2 separate regions of the Homo sapiens genome follow, and region 2 is linked to region 1. Evidence: promoter capture Hi-C in 16 types of primary human blood cells and fetal thymus (Javierre and others, 2016). All regions are on one chromosome and are shown on one strand. Each heading gives the region's core, a stretch centred on a gene start or on the middle of the fragment in contact. The rest is flanking DNA. Distances are from core to core; before and after follow the strand shown. Region 1 holds the start of ZNRF1 (zinc and ring finger 1). Region 2 overlaps ZFP1 (ZFP1 zinc finger protein).

Region 1 (4,183 bases), core at 1,684-4,183:
GATTAATATGCTCCAACCTTCCTGTCCCCACAGTTCAGTGGCTCTCCCTACCCTCACCATGATCGGATGAAAAAAAATAAGGTTTCACAGCTTAAGAGTGAAATTCTGGAATCCAACTACAAGCTCATAACTGTAGCATGGAACCTGGTAGTAGCATAATAAATAAATTTTTAGTAAGAGGCTTAAGAAATTTTAGCAAAAAAAGCACTCCCTTTCTTCCTCCCTACATATCTCATATGTTTTTCAACACAAAAAATTCTGTGATTTTAGAGAAACTTCTTACAGTACTTTTAAGTTCAAAACCAGATGCTCATTACAGTTCTTTTAAACACCAAACTAGTCATCTCAAAAATATGGCTAACTCTCTGGACTAAATTCCATAGGAAAAATTATTAATTTCAAAATGCCTAATTTTGATCAAATGCCTGAAAGAGCCAAAGGCAATCATGTCCTGCTTCTCACTCAGGGCAGAGTTCCATGAGGTCAGAAAAGCTCCAATGATATCCGGAGGTCTGTCAGAGATTAAAATATCATCCTAACAATTCACAAGCTACTTCTAAGTGTTACCCTAAATTAGTCACTAATCGTTTCTCCCCCAACACTATTTCACAAATTAAAGTTTACAGAATTGACAAAAAACCAAACCAAATGAAAACAAACCCCAGGCTATTTGCAGGGGGGGGGAAAGAGATACCCCAAAAGTCAACCCTATTTCACAGTAGTTAAAAGAGTGATCCAACAGATATTACCCTCCATAAAGTACCCTAAAGGCAGGAGCAATCTTTCCCCTACACTATCTAAATTTTCCCAACTCACCCAAAAGAATCTTAAGATGTAACTTCATCACTCAACTTGCCAATTAGCAAATAGCGGCCCCCACATCCCTTTTGGCCAATTTTCTAGATGCCTGACCTAGCAGACAGACCTGTTTTCCTCCTGCCAGGCCTTTTTTGCCCTCCCGCTAGGAGCCTGGGAAATCCCCCTCCAACCTTTTGCTGGCCTGTCACCAGAAGTTCATAAAATGAATTCATCCAGATTCTCTGAATCCTCCTTTTCCCCAGTCATGTGCCAACAGCCAGGCAATAATGCCCCACCGTGACAGGCTCCCTGTTACAAAAAGATGCAGATTCACGGGAAGACCAAGCACTTAGCATGGAGCAGAAGAAAAAAAGATGGAGGGAGGCGAGAGTCGCGGAGCCAAGCCTGCTGCATGCAGTACGGGTGACCACAGCCCGGGTCCTGCAAAGCCCCCGCGAGACTCGCCGGCTGGGCCCTCCGTACAGCAGCCACACCTGTCTATGCCAGCCGCCTGCCGGCTGCTCCATTTTAAACATTTCAAACAGATCTCCAGCAGGGTGGCAAAACTGGGCACCTCTCTCTCCCAGCAAGAGTGAGAGCCCTAATCCAGGCATCACTTGCCCCTGATTTTATTTCATTTTCACACACTCTGTTTAGGAGACACTGCTTGCTCCAACTGGCTCCATCTCTCCGTTACCGGTGAGGCAGGCACAGTGCTGCAGTGGCAGAATGGAAGTACCCAGGCTGACTTGCTCTCAGCCAGACACGACCTCTTCTCTGAGGAGGGTGATGCCAATAAATGGAACTCCAATAGGTAGGCTTCGCTCTGCCCTTCCACAAGTGAACACACGCCGTGAGTCCCTAAATCGCCAGGCTCCGCAGCCTCGCAGAAAGCCTAGTTTCCAGACGGTAGGTATCCCATTTATCCCTTGGCATCGGGAACCAAAGGGAATGCAGACAGATCCCGGTCGTGCACTACATTCCCAAACCTTGGCACGCACGCGAAGGCTTGGGGCGCCCCGGCGCGCCCTCCCTCCGAGGCCTCCACCACCCGCGGACTCACCACTATGCGAGCTGAACCACCTGGGTGCGATGTGCAGAGGTAGAGCATCCGCCAGCGAGGCTCGGGAGCCCAGGTACAGCATCCCGTCTCTATGGTGACCGCCGCCCGTCTCCTGGTAACCATTGCCATGGGCATAGGTGGAGTCGGACGCAGACCCTCCGCCGCCGGGCGCCCTCTCGGAGTCGCCGGTGCCCCGGGAGGCGGGGGTGTAGAGGCCAAAGGGCACCCCCCCGGCCGTGCTGGGGTCCATGCCCATGCCTGCCACCGAGCTGACCGAGCGGCTGCGCAGCCCCATGGCCCCGCCGCCCGTCCGGTAGTGCCCGAAATGGGGCGCCCCTCCCGGCGGCGGCACGGCGCTGTCATCGGTGGAGACCCCCGGGAAGGGGCCCCGGGAGCGGGCCGCCGTGCTCTGCTTGCCCCCCATGCTCGCCCGGGCCCCGGTGGGGCGGGAACCTGGAGGCCGAGACCCTCCCCCACTTCTCAGCAGCAGGGGGAGGGCTGGGCGAGCATAAAGGGGGAGGGAGTCAAAAAGGAGACCCGGAGGGAGAAAAGGAAAAAAAGCAAAAGGAAAAAAGGAAAAAACCCGCGGGGCGGAAGAGGCAGGCGGGCGGGCGGGGATCCCAAACTCAGAATTTCAAACGATCCAAGGCAAACGCATGTTTCCCCTCAAGGTCCAAAGAGGCGCAGTCCGGCGCGGGCTCCGCGCGCCACAGGCCGCCCCCGGGCTCCGAAAGCCGGGGGAGCCGCAGGGAAGGAGGGAGGGAGGCGGCGGCGAGCGGCGGGCGGGCGCGGGGAGGCGCCGGAGGAGGCCGCCCGCCCCGCGGGAGGAGGCGGAGGAGGGCCGGGGGCGCCGGGCGCGTCCCCCGCCTCAGGACGCCGCGACCATGGACGGCGGCCCGGACCCCTCCAGGCCTCGGGCGGGCCGCGGCGCTGGGCGGCCAGGCGCAGCTCGGGAAGCCGCGGTCGCGTCGCGTCGCGCTCTCGCTTCAGCCGCCGCCGGCCCCGCCAGCCGCGCCGCCCCGCTCGGTCCCGGGCTGCGCTCGCCGGCGCTCCTCGCCGCCGTGGAGACAATGGAGGGCGGCAGAGCGCAGGCGCGGCCCGCGCCCCCTCCCCCTCCCCCCGCCGGGTTAACCCTTTCGCGGTCCCTGCGGCGCCTGGGCCGCTGACGCCCCAGCAGTCCCCACCCACCGCCCGCCCCCGGCCGGCCTGTGACCTGGGCGGCCTGACCACTGGGCGTTAGCCACAGAAACCAGATGTCTTTCAAAAGCAAACACTTCTTAAGTCCCCGAAAGTGGCAAATTATTCAGGGGGAACCAAGTATGGGGGAGGGGCAGCAATGGTTCGAGGGGGTGGGAAGGAAACACCGGGAAGAAGGAGATTTACTCCTTACGCCTACCTGGCTCTGAGGGTCACCGGTCGAGCTCCCCTCCTGGCACAAATTTGCCCCCACAGCACCCTCTGGTGGACGTGATGTCCATTCTTTCGGGGGTTCCCCATCCAAGCACCCCTCACGTCCGGAATCTCAACATTTGGCGGGGTTTAGTTATTTGGGGGTAAACAGCGCCATGGGGACACTTGTGAATCCGGCGTTTTGCTGACACTAGATCATAACTTCCTATTTTGGGCTTAAGCAAATGAGTAGATTCCTTAGCTAAAATGTAATTTTCAGAATCAATAGATGTACCATAAAAAGTGAATAGATATGGGTATGGAAATAGAACAACGCAGCTAGAAGTGATTATAGAAACCTTCTGTCCAAGGCTGGAGCCCTGTTTTGTTTACCATGTGCTGTGTTTCGGCCCTCACCACGGGCCAAGGACACGGTGGGTACTCAATAGGTGTATTGTTGACCAAGCCTGAATCATTTGCAAGGGAGTGTTCCTTTGCTACCTCAAGCCGTCTTTCTCCTATATTCACATTCATTTATTGAACAACTGTTTTTTTTGTTTTGTTTTGTTTTTGTTTTTGAGACGTAATCTCGCCCTGTCACCCAGGCTGGAGTGGTGTGGCGTAACCTCGGCTCACCGCAACCTCCGCCTCCCGGATTCAAGTGATTCTCCTGCCTCAGCCTCCCGAGTAGCTGGGATTACAGGCACATGCCACACTGCACCTGGCTAATTTTTTGTATTTTTAGTAGAGGCGGGGTTTCACCGTATTGGCCAGGCTGGTCTTGAACTCCTGACCTCAGGTAATCCACCTGCCTTGGCCTCCCAAAGTGTTAGGATTACAGGCATGAGCCACCGCGCCCGCCCTGTTTTTCTTTTTCTTTTTTTTCTTTTCTTTTTTTTTTTTTTTGAGACGGAGCCTTGCTCCTCCCAGGCT
Region 2 (4,475 bases), core at 903-3,402, 170 kb before region 1:
GCAACAGCAAAACTCAAGGAAGTAGAAATGCCTCCTTTAAACAACAAAATAGTGTAAAAATTTACTTCTAAAGGGGGTTATGCACGTGAAAAATTTAAAAAGCAATGAAACAGTTGACAGTTATTTAAAATAATTTTTCCTCTAAAGTCTCTGAAATGTAACATTTGTGAACTACAGAAGCATCCTACCATTTTTGCTAGACAATTCATGAAATATTAAGGGAAACAAGGAAAGACAAAAACAGGTGGTTTCTGTCTGTGTTACACAATATTTTGGTAACAGACATGCATTTGTATGCAAATATCCCACGGGAAAATAAGAGCATGACGAATGGGGATATTGTCTTTACACGGCAAACTCTTATTCTGTGGTGCATACTGAGTAGTACAGCTCATGTCTGCCTCCTTCACGTTATAGATCGGTTATTTCACATTTGCATATTTGTGTAAATAGTGCTTCTAGAAAATCTTCAGCAAACCAGAAGCAGGGAAAACTTCAACACTGTCTTCTGTTTCCTAAGAGGCAGCTCAAGAACAATGTTCATACCAACTGATATATGCCAGCAAGCAGTAGGGAAAGACGTAGGTTCCATGCTACTTTAAATGTTACACATTTCATTTGGAATGCATACTGGATTGCAGAGATACTGAAAAACACATGTGATGTTTAGTATGGAAAATCTTGTTATGTCCTAATTATCACAGAGGACAAGAATTTCAAATTCCCAGTGATTATGCTAAATTCACATGTGCAGATCTAAAGCATACCACTTGTGTTTTGTGGCATATCCACATAAAACCACTAAATTCATAGGATACTGTTTGTATATTTCTTATGCTGCTGTCTAGAATACTCAATTCATTCAAGATTTTAAAAAGCTCATTGTAGTACAACTGGGTATGGCTATTTACAACTGGATATATTCTGATATGTATTCTTTAGCTGGGTATCACATGTAACTTCCAGTATAATGTTCTCATGGGATCCTATTTTTAATACATTTTTGAGTTGAGAGATTGCATCTCAGTATGAATTCCCATGTTCCCTCAATACTGTCATGAGGTTTTTCACCCGCTTGAAGAGTTCTGGCAGGAGTTTTCCACAGTAAGACCTGGCTGGAGTTTCAGGGTTTCTCCCCGATGTGAACTCTCTGATGGACACTGAGTCGGGACTTCCTGCTAAAGGCCTTCCCACATTCGGAACACTCATATGGTTTCTCTCCTGTGTGGATTCGCAAGTGTAATCTAAGAGTTGACCTCTGGCTGAAAGTTTTGCCGCACTCAGTACATTCATAGGGTTTCTCTCCTGTATGAGTTCTCATGTGTATGATGAGCTGTGAGTTCTGGATAAAGGATTTTCCACATTCACTGCACTCATAGCGTTTCTCCCCCGTGTGAATCTTCTGATGTATGATAAGGTTTGACTTCTTAAAGAAGGTTTTTGCACATTCGTTACACTCATAGGGTCGCTCTCCTGTATGAATTCTCTGGTGTGTGGTGAGTTCAAACTTTTGGGCAAATGTCTTTCCACATTCACTGCACTCATAGGGCTTCTTCTCCATATGTGCTCTCTGGTGTACAATGAGGTTTGACTGGTGGGTGAAAGCTTTTCCACATTCCGGACACTCGAAAGGTTTCTCCCCAGTGTGAATTCTCTGATGTTTGATGAGGTTGGCCTTATGGGAGAAGGTTTTCTTACATACATTGCATTCATATGGCTTTTCTCCAGTATGTATTCTCTTATGACTAATGAGGAGTGACTTAAAGGAGAAAGCCTTGTCACAGTAAGTACAAATGAAAGGTTGAACCAAGTTTTTTATTTTCTGATGTTTAAAAATGGCTGCTTTATGGCTGAGGGCTTTTCCACTTTTATTGTATTCAGAATATTCTACTCCACTGTGGGTTTTCTCTTGCTTCAGGTAGAGAAGTGCTTTTCCAAATTCATTACACTCATCAGTCTGCTTTCCTGCATAGCTTCTATTACTATTAAGCAAGTCTGAATTATATTTCAAAGTTTTTTCATATAAGTCATATTTATAAGGTACTTGTCTTAAAGAAACAAAGTCTGTGTTCAGATTAAGTGCTTTTCCAAAGAGATCGCCTCTTTCCTCAATTGGGGTTTGGTTCTTAAGAATTAAAAATTGCCTCGCCTGCTCGTCTGGGTTTCTGTGGTCTCTCTCCATCTGGTCATCAGCCTTCCACACTTCTAGGAATAGAGAGCACAATGAAAAGAACCTTGTCAATGCCTCCGCTATAATGTTACCGAATGGGAAGTCTTCACACGTGTTCTATCACAGGGCTGACTCTTTAGTTTGGGACCCAGTCTCCCAATATTAAAAAATTCCCAGTGCAAATGTTTCCTTTCAAACTTTGAAAGAGAAAGGTAATAGCTTGTGGTTAAAAAAACAAAACAAAACCAAAATCAATACAAGTAGCATTGCCAGATCACAAAATGACCTTAAAGTGGGCAGAGAGGGTGAAAGGAGACAGAAAACAGAACACAATATGAGAAGGCTGGCAATGCCAGGGAGGGAGATTCACAGTGTTCTTAAGGACACTGCAGTTAGCACAGAGACCGAGAAAGTAAGCAGATGAGGGAATTAAGGGGAAACACCTAAGCAGATCTCGACTAATAGTATTATTTGCTAAACTCGGACTACTATGGTAGAACCAGCACCAGTCTGCATAGTTCTAAGCTTTTTCTCCTTTTTTTCTACTGTTCATCTTTACCAAAATGATTTCCAGAGAACAGCACTTCTCATAGGTTTGCAGTGACAACCAGATAGCAGAGCTCCAAATCTCTTAAGTGAGAATCTTGCAAATGGTAAAATCCAGAAACTCATTCGCTAAGAGATACACAACCCTTACCACAGGATCACTAACTGCTGCTGGTTTTATTGCTTTTTTTTTTCTACTGAAGTTGCTGGGAGAGTGAACATGTTTTCACTATCATATCCTACTTTTCTTCCATTCCTATTTAGAGATAGGGTCTCCCTCATTTGCCCAGGCTGGAGTGCAGTGGCACAATCATAGCTCACTGCAGCCTTGACCTCCTGGGCTCAAGGGATACTCTCAATATTCCAGGCATGAGCCACCATGCCCAGCCTACTTCTTTCAATGTGTTCAGCATCTTAAGGATAAAGTTACCCAGGTTCATTAAGTCAAACAACAGATACTGGCAAGGCTAAGATACACTGTTGGTGGGAATTTAAATTAGTTCAGCCACTGTGGAGAACAGTCTGAAGATTTCTCAAATAATTCAGAACTACCCTTTCACATAGCAATCCCATTAAAAATCATCTGGCCAGGCACACTGGCTCATGCCTGTAATCCCAGCACTTTGGGAGGCCAAGGCAGGAGGATCACTTGAAGTCAGGAGGTCTTATTTTTGTTTTTTTGAGATGGGGTCGGTCTCTGTTGCCCAGGCTGGAGTATAATGGTGTGATCTCAGCTCACTGCAACCTCCGTCTCCCGAGTAGCTGGGATTACAGGCACATGCCACCATGCCCGGCTTATTTTGTATTTTTAGTAGAGAGGGGTTTTCACCATGTTGTTGGTGCTGGTATTGAACTGACCTCAGGTGATCTGCCCGCCTCAGCCTCCCAAAATGCTAGGATTATAAGCATGAGCCATGGCGCCTGGCCTGGGGTCAGGAGTTCTACAGAGAACTTGTCTCTACAAAAGTAAAAAATAATTAGCAGGACATGGTGGTGTGTGTCTGTGATCCCAGCTACTCCAGGCTGAGGTGGGAAGACTACTTGAGCTCAGGAGGTGGACGCTACAGTGCACCGTGATGTCACCACTGGATTCTAGCCTGGGTGACAGAATGAGACCCTGTCTCAAAAAAAGATTCTACCAAAAAGACACATGCCCACTCATAGGTTCATCACAGCACTATGCATAATAGCAAAGACATGGAATCAACCTAGGTGCCCATTAATGGTGGACTGGAAAAGAATGGTACATGTACAAGACACAACAAAGTTTAAGATATGTTAGGAAAGTTTCAGGGTTCAAGTGTGAGAGGCAAATATCTATAAGATTAAACAGGAAAAAAAAAAAGGTAAGCAGGGAGAGACGGATATTTGGAGGTATGCTTCAGAGATTGAGGTACAGGTCATCTGTCCTCAGCTATACTTAAGTGTTAGGGATTTGAAAAACAGATTGCTGAAAAGTATTTCAAAGGTACTGAGCTGCTCATAATCGTCTGGATACTAATTCCACTGGCTTCTGCTTCTCCCTCTCTCCCGTCCTATCTCCCTTAGAATGTTCTGAATTGACAACTCTATGCTACCCAAAACTCTTCTGGTTGCTCCAACTTGAAAATTGCATATGGCTTGACAGCCATTTACTAATGGGACATAGCTCCTAATTGCCTGGACTTCAGAAGCCTTAAAGGAAAGGAGATGATAGAGCTTTAAAGGCTGCAAGATCTCTCAGGTTTAATACCTGAGGACTTAGGCCAAAAACATTTAG

Evidence for each region. Contacts are between HindIII fragments. The CHiCAGO score rates a contact against its expected background, and 5 or more counts as called.
Region 2: a contact is called between a fragment that was not itself captured here and the fragment with the promoter of ZNRF1 in region 1, in 3 of 17 cell types (fetal thymus, M1 macrophages and M0 macrophages). The highest score is 8.9, in fetal thymus.

Annotation. Positions count from the first base shown.
Region 1 is chr16:74,997,774-75,001,956 of GRCh38, reverse strand. It overlaps ZNRF1 (zinc and ring finger 1), which reads right to left and starts at 2,933. Exons shown (of 5, transcript NM_032268.5): 1 at 1,862-2,933. The coding sequence starts at 2,285. RefSeq lists an enhancer at 1,062-1,121 and silencers at 1,912-2,221, 2,622-3,141. The HindIII fragment of the contact is 6,289 bases long and covers 1-4,183 here.
Region 2 is chr16:75,166,983-75,171,457 of GRCh38, reverse strand. It overlaps ZFP1 (ZFP1 zinc finger protein), which reads right to left. Exons shown (of 4, transcript NM_153688.4): 4 at 1-2,205. The coding sequence ends at 1,124. Among named protein-coding and RNA genes, the nearest start is that of ZFP1, 21 kb to the right of the region's middle. The HindIII fragment of the contact is 1,090 bases long and covers 1,608-2,697 here.